Linked DNA regions of Homo sapiens: region 2 is linked to region 1. The links are contacts of gene promoters, found by promoter capture Hi-C in blood cells and fetal thymus (Javierre and others, 2016). All regions are on one chromosome and are shown on one strand. Each heading gives the region's core, a stretch centred on a gene start or on the middle of the fragment in contact. The rest is flanking DNA. Distances are from core to core; before and after follow the strand shown.

Region 1 (5,446 bases), core at 1,612-4,111:
AGTTGTATCTATGTTCTTTATCTTGCACTGATGGGCCCCTTATGGGGTTATAGAATTCACTCATTCAGGCATTAATTCATTTGACAGTTATGTATTGAGTGTCAACTGTATAACAGGAATTGTACTAGGCACTGCCTACAAGCTTTGGTGAAAACAAACAAGTAAATGGGGAATTCTGAGGAGATCATAACAGCTCTCTTGGGGGTAAAAATAAGTGTCCTGGAATCATCAGGGGAGGTTTCCTGGAAGAAGCTGTCTAAAATGAAACAATGTATCTTTAAGAGTTGAGGAGGATAGGTGGATGTAGTGCAAGAAATGTTCTAAACAGAGGCAGGTGCAGCAGTCTCGACGAAAAAGAGAATACAAAACCTCCACCTCCGAGAACTGAAAGTGCTACAGTTTGAGCAGTATCCATTTGTATGTAAGGGAAGAGTGGCAGGGACCAAAGGGACAGGTTAGGGAGGGGAGGGAGTATCTACAAAAGAGAGGAGTGGCAAGAAATGAGATCGGAGAGGTAAACAAGGCGGCCAGATCAGGAAAGCCTTGTGTGCCACATTAAGGAGTTTCAGTATTACCTGGAGGACAATCAGGAAATCATTAATGAGTTTTCACGGAGAAGCATGACTTGATTTAGCTTTTCATAAAGGCTTGTGGAAAAATGGAGACACTGATCGGAGAGAAAGGAATAAGAGGCAAGGCTGAAAGCAAGAGACCTTGAGTTAGACCACTATTGCAATAATCTAGGGTGACTGTGGTTTACACTCTACACGAAGATAATGGAGACAAATAGTGGACAGAAGTAATCAGATTCAAGACCGTTATTACTTGGGTGGCATAGAGATCACTTGGTGGTTTATGCTATGTGTGGGTCAGGTGAATGAGAGAAAAAAGTCCACGATGACACTGAGGTTCTGACTTGGCTAACTCAGTGGAGGGTGTTTCTGCTATTAGGTCCCCAGTGTCAATTCTCAATTCTAAGTAGGGAACTCAGAAGCATCCATTAACTTTAAAAGTTTGTTCTTATCTCACAGTATATGATCCCAGGCTCATAATTTTAGGAATAATAAGTTGTATGAATCATCCTGGACCATCACTTTCCTGAGGTCCATATTTGAAACAGCTGTGGGTGTAGAAAGTATGAATTAATCACCTCTTCTTCCCAAATAAAGAATCTTAAAATTACCAACCTCACTGCTTGAGAGAGCTAAGTAGATTGAAAAGGCATGAAGATTTATGGAGGAAGCTCTCTTTTGGAGTTATAGGAAGAAGGGAAATTGATTCCACTAATCCTCTGGCTTCAGGCTCTCTCTAGACTCACAACATATATTCTTAGGCTTGAGAGTTGAGGACTCAGAAATGCTGTTTGGAGGATGGATGAAAGGGGACAATGACCCTCAGTTTTCGAGGAGCACAGTCCTCCTATGTAGGACACTGGTGCATAAGGATCAGAGTGTCGCACTGCTTGGAATATTCTCCAATTCTGAATAAAGGGTATATAAGTCATTATACATGGTGAATTCCACCACCAGATAAGATTTAAGGGTAGCAATTGTAATAAATCAAGGCCCTTGGCCCAGCTGATGTACCCTATTCTAAGTCCCCAGTTGGACAGATTTTCGAGCTTTCTTAAACAAATTTGTGTGCATCACAAATGCTTTTTCTGCCTGTCATGTAAAAGGCATCAACAAATATTGACTGGATCATCTGGACCTGACTTAGCTGCCCTTTGGAAAGTTCTGTTCAATCAGCTGGATAGAGCTGTTTGTTTTCCTCACCTAACCCTCACAGCTATCCTAGAGGTAGGTATCACTATTATTATCCCTCAATTTAACAAGGGTAAATTTGAAGTTCAGAAGGGTCAAGAACCGTAGGCGTAGGCCACGCATGCAATGGCATCCGCATGTAATTCGAGCACTTTGAGAGGCCTGGACGGGATGATCCCTTGATCCCAGGAGTTAGAGGTTGCAGTGAGCCCTGATCGCGCCACTGTACTACAGCCTGGGCCACAGAACGAGATGCCGTTTCAACAGCAACGGAAAAAAAAAAAAACAAAAAACGAAACAACAACAAAAACTTTAGGCATAAAGGCACTCAGGCTGAAGGGACCGATTGGAGTGCTGGCTTGAACTCGTTTTTCTGAGTTCAATTCCAGTGCTCTTCCCTTAGCAGTGTGCTGGAGCTACTTCCTGGAGCCGGGCAGCTGCAGGGCAGCGCTGGGGAAAAGACTGTTCTCTGGCTACATAGCAGCCTGGCTTCTCCAAGCCGGAGGGAGCTGCGCTGACCACTGAAGGCCTTTCTGATGCAACCCCTTCCAAGTAGAATCCATCGCAGCCTTTCAGATCCCGGAACCCAGAGGCTGTGTCGGTCCTGACGCACTGGCTTGGCTGGGCTCCGGTACGAGAGGGATCTCTGCAGCTCTCGGGCGAGGCAGTTGTGGGGAGCTGTAGGCTGACTTAAGACCTGGAGGCCAAGGAGGGGTGGCCAGGGGAAAACTTTCTCTATTTTGTCTCTCTGTGATGTCGCAGCTTTTCTCAGTCACTCCATCCAACGCCACCCACTTCAAACCTGAGATCAAGTGCAAAAAAAAAAGAGGGTGGGGTCACCCCTGGGCTGGAGATGCCGCTAGCCGCAGCCTGCCTACACCGGGCCGAGCTCCTTGGAGAGGGAGGGACACCGGCTCTGGCTGGGGGGGCGCGGAGTGCCGTGGGGAAATCGGGCGGGTGGGGCGCGCCCAGGCGCGGTCGAGTTGCCCCGAAGGCCGCAGGTGAGGGAGGGCGTGGGAGGCGCCCCAGGAGCTGCCTCTAGCGAGTGCGGCACCACGTGTCCGGCCGGGGCGGGGTCGGGCGTGCCCTCGGAGCCCAGAGCAATCGGCGGCAGTGGCGGCGGCGGCGCGTTGGAGCCTCACCAAGAGCCGCCGCCCGCAGCCCGCGCCGGCTCAGCGCAGTCTCCTCGCTCCGTGCTCGCAGGTGCCTCCTCCTGGACGGCGGCAGCGGCGGCGCGAGGAGCCGGCGGGCAGCGGCGCGATGGGGCCCCTCCGCGAGAGCAAGGTAAGGAGCGCGGGGCAGTGCGGGCACTGGAGGGCGGGGAAGGCGGGCACTGCGGGGCGAGAAGCGGCGGGATGAGAGCTGGAGGGGTGACATTTAGAGTCTGGGGAAAGGTGGAAGGAGGTGGTGGTGGGGTCTGGAGAAGGCAGGAGGCATTGCTTAGGAGTTGAGATCCAGGAGATGGGGAGGTGGTACTGGAGGAATAGATTTTGGAGAATGACATGATTGGAGGGTTAATCCCACCTCCTGAAACTGGGACTGTGGGGTGTAGCTTTCAGTTGATATCCTGTGTGTGTGATGTGAATGAAAGGAATTTGATGCATCCGCGACTGGGAAAAGAGGACTCCCGCGTGTCAGTGACCCTGCCTTAGCTCAGGGTCTGCGGTGTGCCCGGCGGAGTGGCTGGCGCATGGTACCTGCTGGGCGGCAGATGTGCAGGGCGAATCCGAGGCTGCGTGCGGCTGGCGGCCCCCGGGTAGAGTGGATGCCTGAGGGCCCTCCGAAGTTCCCCATTGCTGAGGTTTACCCTTCAATTTATGCCATGTGCCGGCCTCCCAGAGGTGTTTATTTTGGCCGTGACCCTTCCTGGTAAGCCGGTGGAAGGAACAGTAGGTCATGTTTCGAAAGGGTGTTTGTTACCTAAGCCAAAGAGTCCCTTTCAGTGGCAGAGGTTGGAGGAAGCAGTGGAATTTTTGCAAAACGCTCCTCCTAGGAATCCATTTTCATAAGGCAGGGTGGTGGTGACCCTGCAAAGCACTGGATTTGAATTTCGTTCTACTTCTGGCATGGTGTGCAGAATTGCCTAAGCATCTCTACCCCATTTAGCCTGTTTCCTCATCTGAAAATAGGGACATTCATTGGTGTGCTCTCTATGTACAGTCTGGTGTGTAAAGATCAAATGAGAAAATGGTTGGAAAAGCACTTTATAAGTTGGAAAACATTGTGAAAATATTACTGTTACGCATTTTTAAAACCACGAAATGGCAGGGTACTTCATGCTGCGTTTTTAAGGAGAAAGAAAAATCTCTTCTTATGGATGTCCTGTAAGGAAAACAAAAATTAAAGATGATGTAAAAGGTGGAGCCATCTTCCCGAGTATCGGATTTGTGTTTGCTTTTCTGTTGGCAACAAGCCTTGTGTACCAGGATATTAACGAATAATTAAGATCCTGTCCAGAAGAGGAGGGATTTTAAAGATAATTGTGTGTGAGCTATCAGGAAATAACTGTTCCAGGTATAGGGTTCAACTTTGTGAGGAGACAAGAAAACAAGTCAGACTGTCACAGCTAATTTAGGGAAAGCAAAATGGAAGTCTGAAGGCTATCAAGTAAGCCAGAGTGTGGTGTTAATAAAGAGCCTTTGGGAGGCAGAAGCTTGAATGTGATAGAAGTCAGGGTGGGAAGGTGAGTCAGGACCAGCATAGGGAAGTAGGATGGCCTTCCAGCTAGTGAGTGGAGGTGTGTATATGTGTGTGTGTGTGTGTGTGTGTGTGCCACACAGACATGTGCTATTCAGTAGATTAGAAAGGTTAACTCATTGGAAGAGTTTTGAAGCTCATTTCAGCAACTGAGATAAGAAGGACTACTCTGTGAAGACTCAATACTCAGAAATGTGATTTCTTAGAAATTGATCCTTGAAGGAACCGACAGGAGTTAAGAGAGGGAAACGCGTTTCCTTTTGTTTTCTTTTTTGATGTCCAATTTTGAGAAGGAGCACAGAGTGCAGCATCATGACAAGGAGATTTCTCGAAGCCGAATTCCCCGGTTGATTCTTCGGCCCCATATGCCCCAACAACAGCACAAAGTGTCCCCAGCCTCTGAGTCTCCTTTCTCTGAGGAAGAGAGCAGAGAGTTCAACCCCAGCAGCTCTGGGCGCTCAGCGAGGACCGTTAGCAGCAACAGCTTCTGCTCAGGTACAGTACCCTCGGGAGGCCACCAGAGGCGTGAAGCGTGTGCACTGCAGGTGCATTGTGAATGGGCCCATACTGGGTCCCTTATAGCCTAGAACTACACTTCTACTATTAGGATGAATTGTAGAAGGTGGTACATTTCTGGCTGTTGTGACCTACAAACACAGCAGTTTCATATAGTTCAGTTTATTGGAATCTCACACCTGAATTTTCATATGTTATTCTAGCTTATAATTTCGAATGTAAAATCTAACTTCTTGTTTCTATGACTTTTTTCCTTTGTTTTATTATACTTTAATTTCTGGGATACACGTGCAGAACATGCAGGTTTGTTACATAAGTATACACATGCCATGGTGGTTTGCTGCACCCATCAACCCATCATCTACATTAGGTATTTCTCCTAATGCTATCCCTCTCCTAGCCCCCACCCCCTGACAGGCCCTGGTATGTGATGTTCCCCTCCCTGTGTCCATGTGTTCAACTTCCACTTA
Region 2 (5,446 bases), core at 744-3,243, 1.4 Mb after region 1:
GTGGGAAAAACTGCCCAATACCCACCTCTTTGGAGAAAATGTTGGTAAGATAGCTGTAATACACCAAGAGGAAGACAGATGCTGGAGTATTTAATTAGCAATTTCTAAGTACATTTGACTCTTGGACAGTACAGGGGTTAGGAACGCTGAGCTCTCGCAGTCAAAAATCCGTTATAAGTTTTGACTCCCCCAAAACTTAATATATCCTAATGCTGACAGGAAGGCTTACTGAGAACATGGACAGTCCTGTGTTGTATGTGTTCTATACTGTATTATTACAATAAAGTAAGCTAGAGAAAATAAAATGGTCTTAAATTATAAGGAAGAGAAAATACATTTACTTTTTAGTAAGTGGAAGTACATCATCATGAAGGTCTTCATTGTCTTCATATTGAGTAGGCTGAGGAGGAGGAGTAAAAGGAGGGGTTGGTCTTGCTGTTTCAGGGGTAGCAGAGGTGGAAGAAGTAGAGGAAGTGGATGGGAAGTCAGGAAAGGCAGGCACACTTGGTGTAACTTTTATTGAAAAAAAGTTGTGTATACGTGGACCTGTGTGGTTCAAACCCTTGTCGTCCAAGGGTTAATTGTATAGGGCCATATAACTGAGAAATCCAAGATAAAACCCAGACATCTCACCACTAAACAACTTACCTATCCTTTAGAGTTGAATGTTTTTGATATAAGGTAAAAATAAATGTCGAAGAGGTAGGTACTGGTAGAGTGCTATCAAAATTGAGATTTTGTTATCTTCAGTGAGCAAAGAGGACTTTGAGGAGGTGAGGCTTTGAGTCTTGAAGGCAAAATGGTTAGAATAGAGTCAGTGATCCTGCTATGTGAGGATACAGCAGCCCCCCCCCCCCACACCCCCTTAGCAGTTTCAATTTCTGCAGTTCCAGTTACTCATGGTCCAAAAATATTAAATGGAAAATTCCAGAAATTAGCAATTCGTAAGTTTTAAATTGTTCGCCCTTCTGGGTAGTAGGATGAAATCTGTCTCGCTCTCTTGCTTAAAACTGGGACATGAATCATCCTTTTGTCCAATGTATCCACACTGTATATGCTAACTTAATTGTTCTATTTTGTTATTGTTCATCTCTTGTTCCCAGTTTATAAATTAAACTTTATCATAGGTATGCATGTATAGGAAAAAAACAGTAAATATAGGATTGGGGCTATCTGCAGTTTCAGGCAGCAGCCGCTGGGGGGTCTTGGAACATTTAGCTCATGGATAAGGGGAGACTATTACATTGCACCAAGAGAAAAACAGTTTCATATATTTGTAGTACATTGGAGAATATAAGCTTCATGAGAGCAGAAGCTTCCTTGTGCTCTCAGCACATAATATGAGTCTGGCATAAAGGCTTTTTATGATTGTTTAATAAATGATTGAATGAATACATACTTGTTTCTCACTCTTCTTTATTTTCATGTGAAGCAGAAGGCCAGATAGTGAAATATTTAGGACCCTGGGCTCTGAATTGGACCTTTCATGACTCGGTCATTTAATACCTCTGTGCAGTCAGAGCAGATTCTTTTACCCTCTTAACCTTTTCTCATGAATAAAATGTTAATACTACCACCAATCTCATCGGGTTAGAAAAATTACATGAGATAATGCATATAAAACACTACGCTCTTCTGGGACAGAGTGAGTACTCCTTAATGTTTTGTGTTTTGAGACAGGGTCTCGCTTTGTCACCTAAGCTGGAGTGCAGTGGCACAATCTTAGCTCATTACAGCCCTGACTTTCTGGGCTCAAGCAATTCTCCCACCTCAGCCCCAGAAGTAGCTGGGACTACAGGTGTGCGCCACCATGTCCGGCTGATTTTTTTTGTATTTTTTGTAGAGATGGGGTTTCACCATGTTACCCAGGCTGGTCTCAAACTCCTGAACTCAAGTGATCTGCCACCTTGGCCTCGCAAAGTGCTGGGATTACAGACATGAGCCACCACCCTTGGCTCTAAATGTTTTTTATTTTGGAAGACTAGCCCATTCTGTATTGGTATGGGATGGGAGGGGGGGGCAGTGAGGGTTTTGAGGAGTAAGGTAAGGACTGGAAATGGTTACTAAGAAACTGATCAAAGGAAAGTACAAGGATTGGTTAAGTGTGGAGGGCCCAACTGAGATTGGAAATCATACCTTAGAGCTAATAATGGGGTCATTCTCAGGGCGAGGAGCGGTAGAAGGCTATGGGAGTAGTATAGACATATTTAGGGGTAGGCTTGTATGTAAATGCCATTTAGAGAAGCACAGATGTGATCGAATAACATTATTCCCTAATTTTGAAACATTTTGTAGTCATCCTTAGCCAGAACCTAGAGAATAGGTGACTTTTTTTCCAGAGTTAGTGATTGACACTGAATTGTATATAGTTGGAGAAATTAGTTTGAAAGAATCAATGATAGAACTGAAGAGAAAATCTTTGAAATAGCTAAAAATGATATCCAAACTAAGGCAGAAAGTGACATCAAAAAGGGTATTACAAAAATTAGAAAGGGCAGAAAGTCTGAGATGATGAAGATTTTAATGGTAATGGTGGAAGGGGTTATCAGTTTTAAGTTGGAATTCTTGGAGATGAGGGGTTATCAGTTTTAAGTTGGAATTCTTGGAGATGAGATACATGATGAAAATTGTCATAATTTGAGGAATAAAGGAATTTTAGGGCTCAAGCTTTTAAAGAGTCATCAGTATGGCATTATATTTGTGTTGAATGACAGCAGAGGAAGAGACAGCAAAAAAAGATTCTTAATCTGTTAAAAAGTAATATGTTTTCAAGAGGTTGATAGACGACGGATCAGCAGACTATAGCCTGGGAATCAGATAGCAGCCTGTTTTTGTGTGGTTTTGGGGCTAAGAATAGTTTGTAACAGAGGAACATTTGCAAACATTAGCAATTATAGAATATTAACTTTATACCCCAATTAAGTGAAATAATTTCTCTTGAAAAAGCATTCTATTCTTATTAATAGACCTGTATTACAAAAACTTTTACTGTTATTATTTCTGTTTCAAAATTTTTAAAAAATTGTGGAAATTTGATTCTCGTTTTTCATGTGAGTACTTATATAGTATTTTCAATTGTTGCTTCTTGATACAAAGTCTGAAGTATTTGCTTTCTGCTTATGAGGCAGAATTGAGAGGCATATGTAGATTTGAGAACAGGACAGTAACACCTGATGGTAGAGGAGCAAGGCTATTGAATCTATTGTGGAGAGAGACGTGGCAAATTAAAAGTTACTAGTGGAGTGGGGAGAGGTAGCGTGCTTGGAAAAGAATGTTTTTATTTAAGATTAGTGTTTCTATAGGGCAAAGTGATGAGAAGTTAAGGTTTTTTAGGTAAATTTTTTATCAGATATGACGTTCATTCATACAAGTACACAAATATAAATGTACTGGTCAATGATACATATTTTTTTCAAAATGAATAGCGAATACATTTATGTGACCACCACTCAGATTAATAAATAAAACATTACAGACATCCTTTTTTTTTTTTTTTTTTTTTTCTTTTTTTTTGAGACAGAGTCTTGCTCTGTGGCCCAGGCTGGAGTGCAGTGGCGCAATCTCGGCTCACTGCAAGTTCCACCTCCTGGGTTCACGTCATTCTCCTGCCTCAGCCTCCCGAGTAGCTGGGACTACAGGCGCCCACCACCACGCCCGGCTAATTTTTTGTATTTTTAGTAGAGACAGGGTTTCACCGTGTTAGCCAGGATGGTCTCGATCTCCTGACCTCGTGATCCGCCTGCCTCGGCCTCCCAAAGTGCTGGGATTACAGGCGTGAGCCACTGCGCCTGGCGACATCCTTAAACCTTCATCTTGACCCCTGTTAGTCACTACTCACACCCCCTAAAGGTAAGCTGTAGTCTGATGATTCATTTTGCCTGTTTTTGATTTTTATATAGGTGGAGTTAAGCATTTACCACCATGTACTGCTTTGTATGACATCTTTCACTCAGCATTGTTTGTGAGTCATCATGTTTTTAGGATAGCAGTAGTAGTTCATTGATTTTTCAGTGCCGAATGTTAATCTATTATGAGTATGCTGTGGTTTGTTTTCTCATTTTAACATTGATAGACTTGGCTATTACAAATAGTGCTCCTGTGTACATTTTTGGAAGTGCACTTTGACTATATGCACCCATTTGTTTTGGATGCCTCGAAACAATTGCTGGATCAAAAAGTATGTTTGGCTTTGGGAGATAAAAATCTTACAAAGTAGTTGTATTCCTGCCAGAAGAGAATAGGTTCCAGTTAGTCTACATCCACACCAACACTGGTATTGTCAGGATTTTTTAGGTTTTTATTGTAATTTTTAGTATGCATTTCCTTATGATTAATGACGTTGAGAACCTTTTCATGTGTCTGTTGGCCATTTGGTTGTCTTCTTTTGCGAAGTGCCTATCTTTTAGCCATTTCAATTGCAAGGTCTGTCTTGTCTTACTCATTTATAGGAGTTCTGCATGTAATTTGGAAGGTTCGATTTTGCTCTCATGGCTAAATACCCTTTGACCACCTTCATCTTTATTTTTTGTGGGCAGTGAAATATTGTGGCATTTTCTTGGATTTTTCTTTCCTTGCAAAATTAAGTTCAGTACAGAAATCTTTTCTTTTGCTGAAGCATTTCTGTCCGTGAATATTTTGTAGAATCTTTACATATTACTCAGTACACTTCATGTTGTTGTGAGTTTGTGTATATGTATCTATTTGCTCCCTGTACTATAGGTTAAATTATGCTTTTTTGGATCCTTTGCAAAGCAAAAGCCTGATCTGACATGGTTGACTTAAAAACTTGGTGCAGGTTGTTTCAGCAATGTGGATGGAGAAGCATATAGGAGTTTATTACTGATTACCTGGATGTGGAGAAGTGACAGCTATATGTGCTTTACAGGAAAGATGGCGTGGGTTTTATTTATACACAGCCTTGCCTAGAAAGGGTAAGAGATGGTTTGTAGGGACACATAAAAAATAAGGTCATGTAAATCAGAAGTAGGTGGGAATGTCTACAGTAATTCTCTTCATTTTAAAATTTTTAGGTAAGTAAAATACTTTTACGTCTATAGGTTGGTTGCTTGCCATATTGCTTGCCATTATTACAAGAGGGGAATGTTAATGGTTTATCGTATTTTATAAAGTATTTCTTGAAATATATTTCCAGGTAAATTAGTTTTAGTATTAATCAGTTTATTTGGGGAACTTAAATATATTCATTAGAAAGTTATCTTCTTTTGCAGATATATAATGAAAAGGAATTATTACAAGGTAAATTGGACCTTCTTAGTGATACCAACATGGTAGACTTTGCTATGGATGTATACAAAAACCTTTATTCTGATGATATTCCTCATGGTAAGTTTTGTCATTAGAACTGAAACTTGTCTTGTGACTTGAGGATGTGTGTATTAAAGTTTTATGATTTATAAGACAGCTTTAGCCAAAAGGCTTAAATATG

Evidence for each region. Contacts are between HindIII fragments. The CHiCAGO score rates a contact against its expected background, and 5 or more counts as called.
Region 2: a fragment that was not itself captured here is called in contact with the fragment with the promoter of SYBU in region 1 in 1 of 17 cell types (total B cells); the score reaches 6.1 in total B cells.

The regions. Positions count from the first base shown.
Region 1 is chr8:109,642,237-109,647,682 of GRCh38, reverse strand. SYBU (syntabulin) reads left to right here and starts at 2,861. Exons shown (of 7, transcript NM_001099754.2): 1 at 2,861-3,047; 2 at 4,751-4,955. The coding sequence starts at 3,024. It overlaps SYBU-AS1 (SYBU antisense RNA 1), which reads right to left and starts at 3,554. Exons shown (of 2, transcript NR_161375.1): 1 at 3,461-3,554; 2 at 1-2,565. RefSeq lists enhancers at 2,177-2,496, 2,158-3,094 and a silencer at 2,607-3,096. The HindIII fragment of the contact is 4,274 bases long and covers 145-4,418 here.
Region 2 is chr8:108,241,696-108,247,141 of GRCh38, reverse strand. It overlaps EIF3E (eukaryotic translation initiation factor 3 subunit E), which reads left to right. Exons shown (of 13, transcript NM_001568.3): 2 at 5,229-5,343. Among named protein-coding and RNA genes, the nearest start is that of EIF3E, 4.3 kb to the left of the region's middle. The HindIII fragment of the contact is 1,352 bases long and covers 1,318-2,669 here.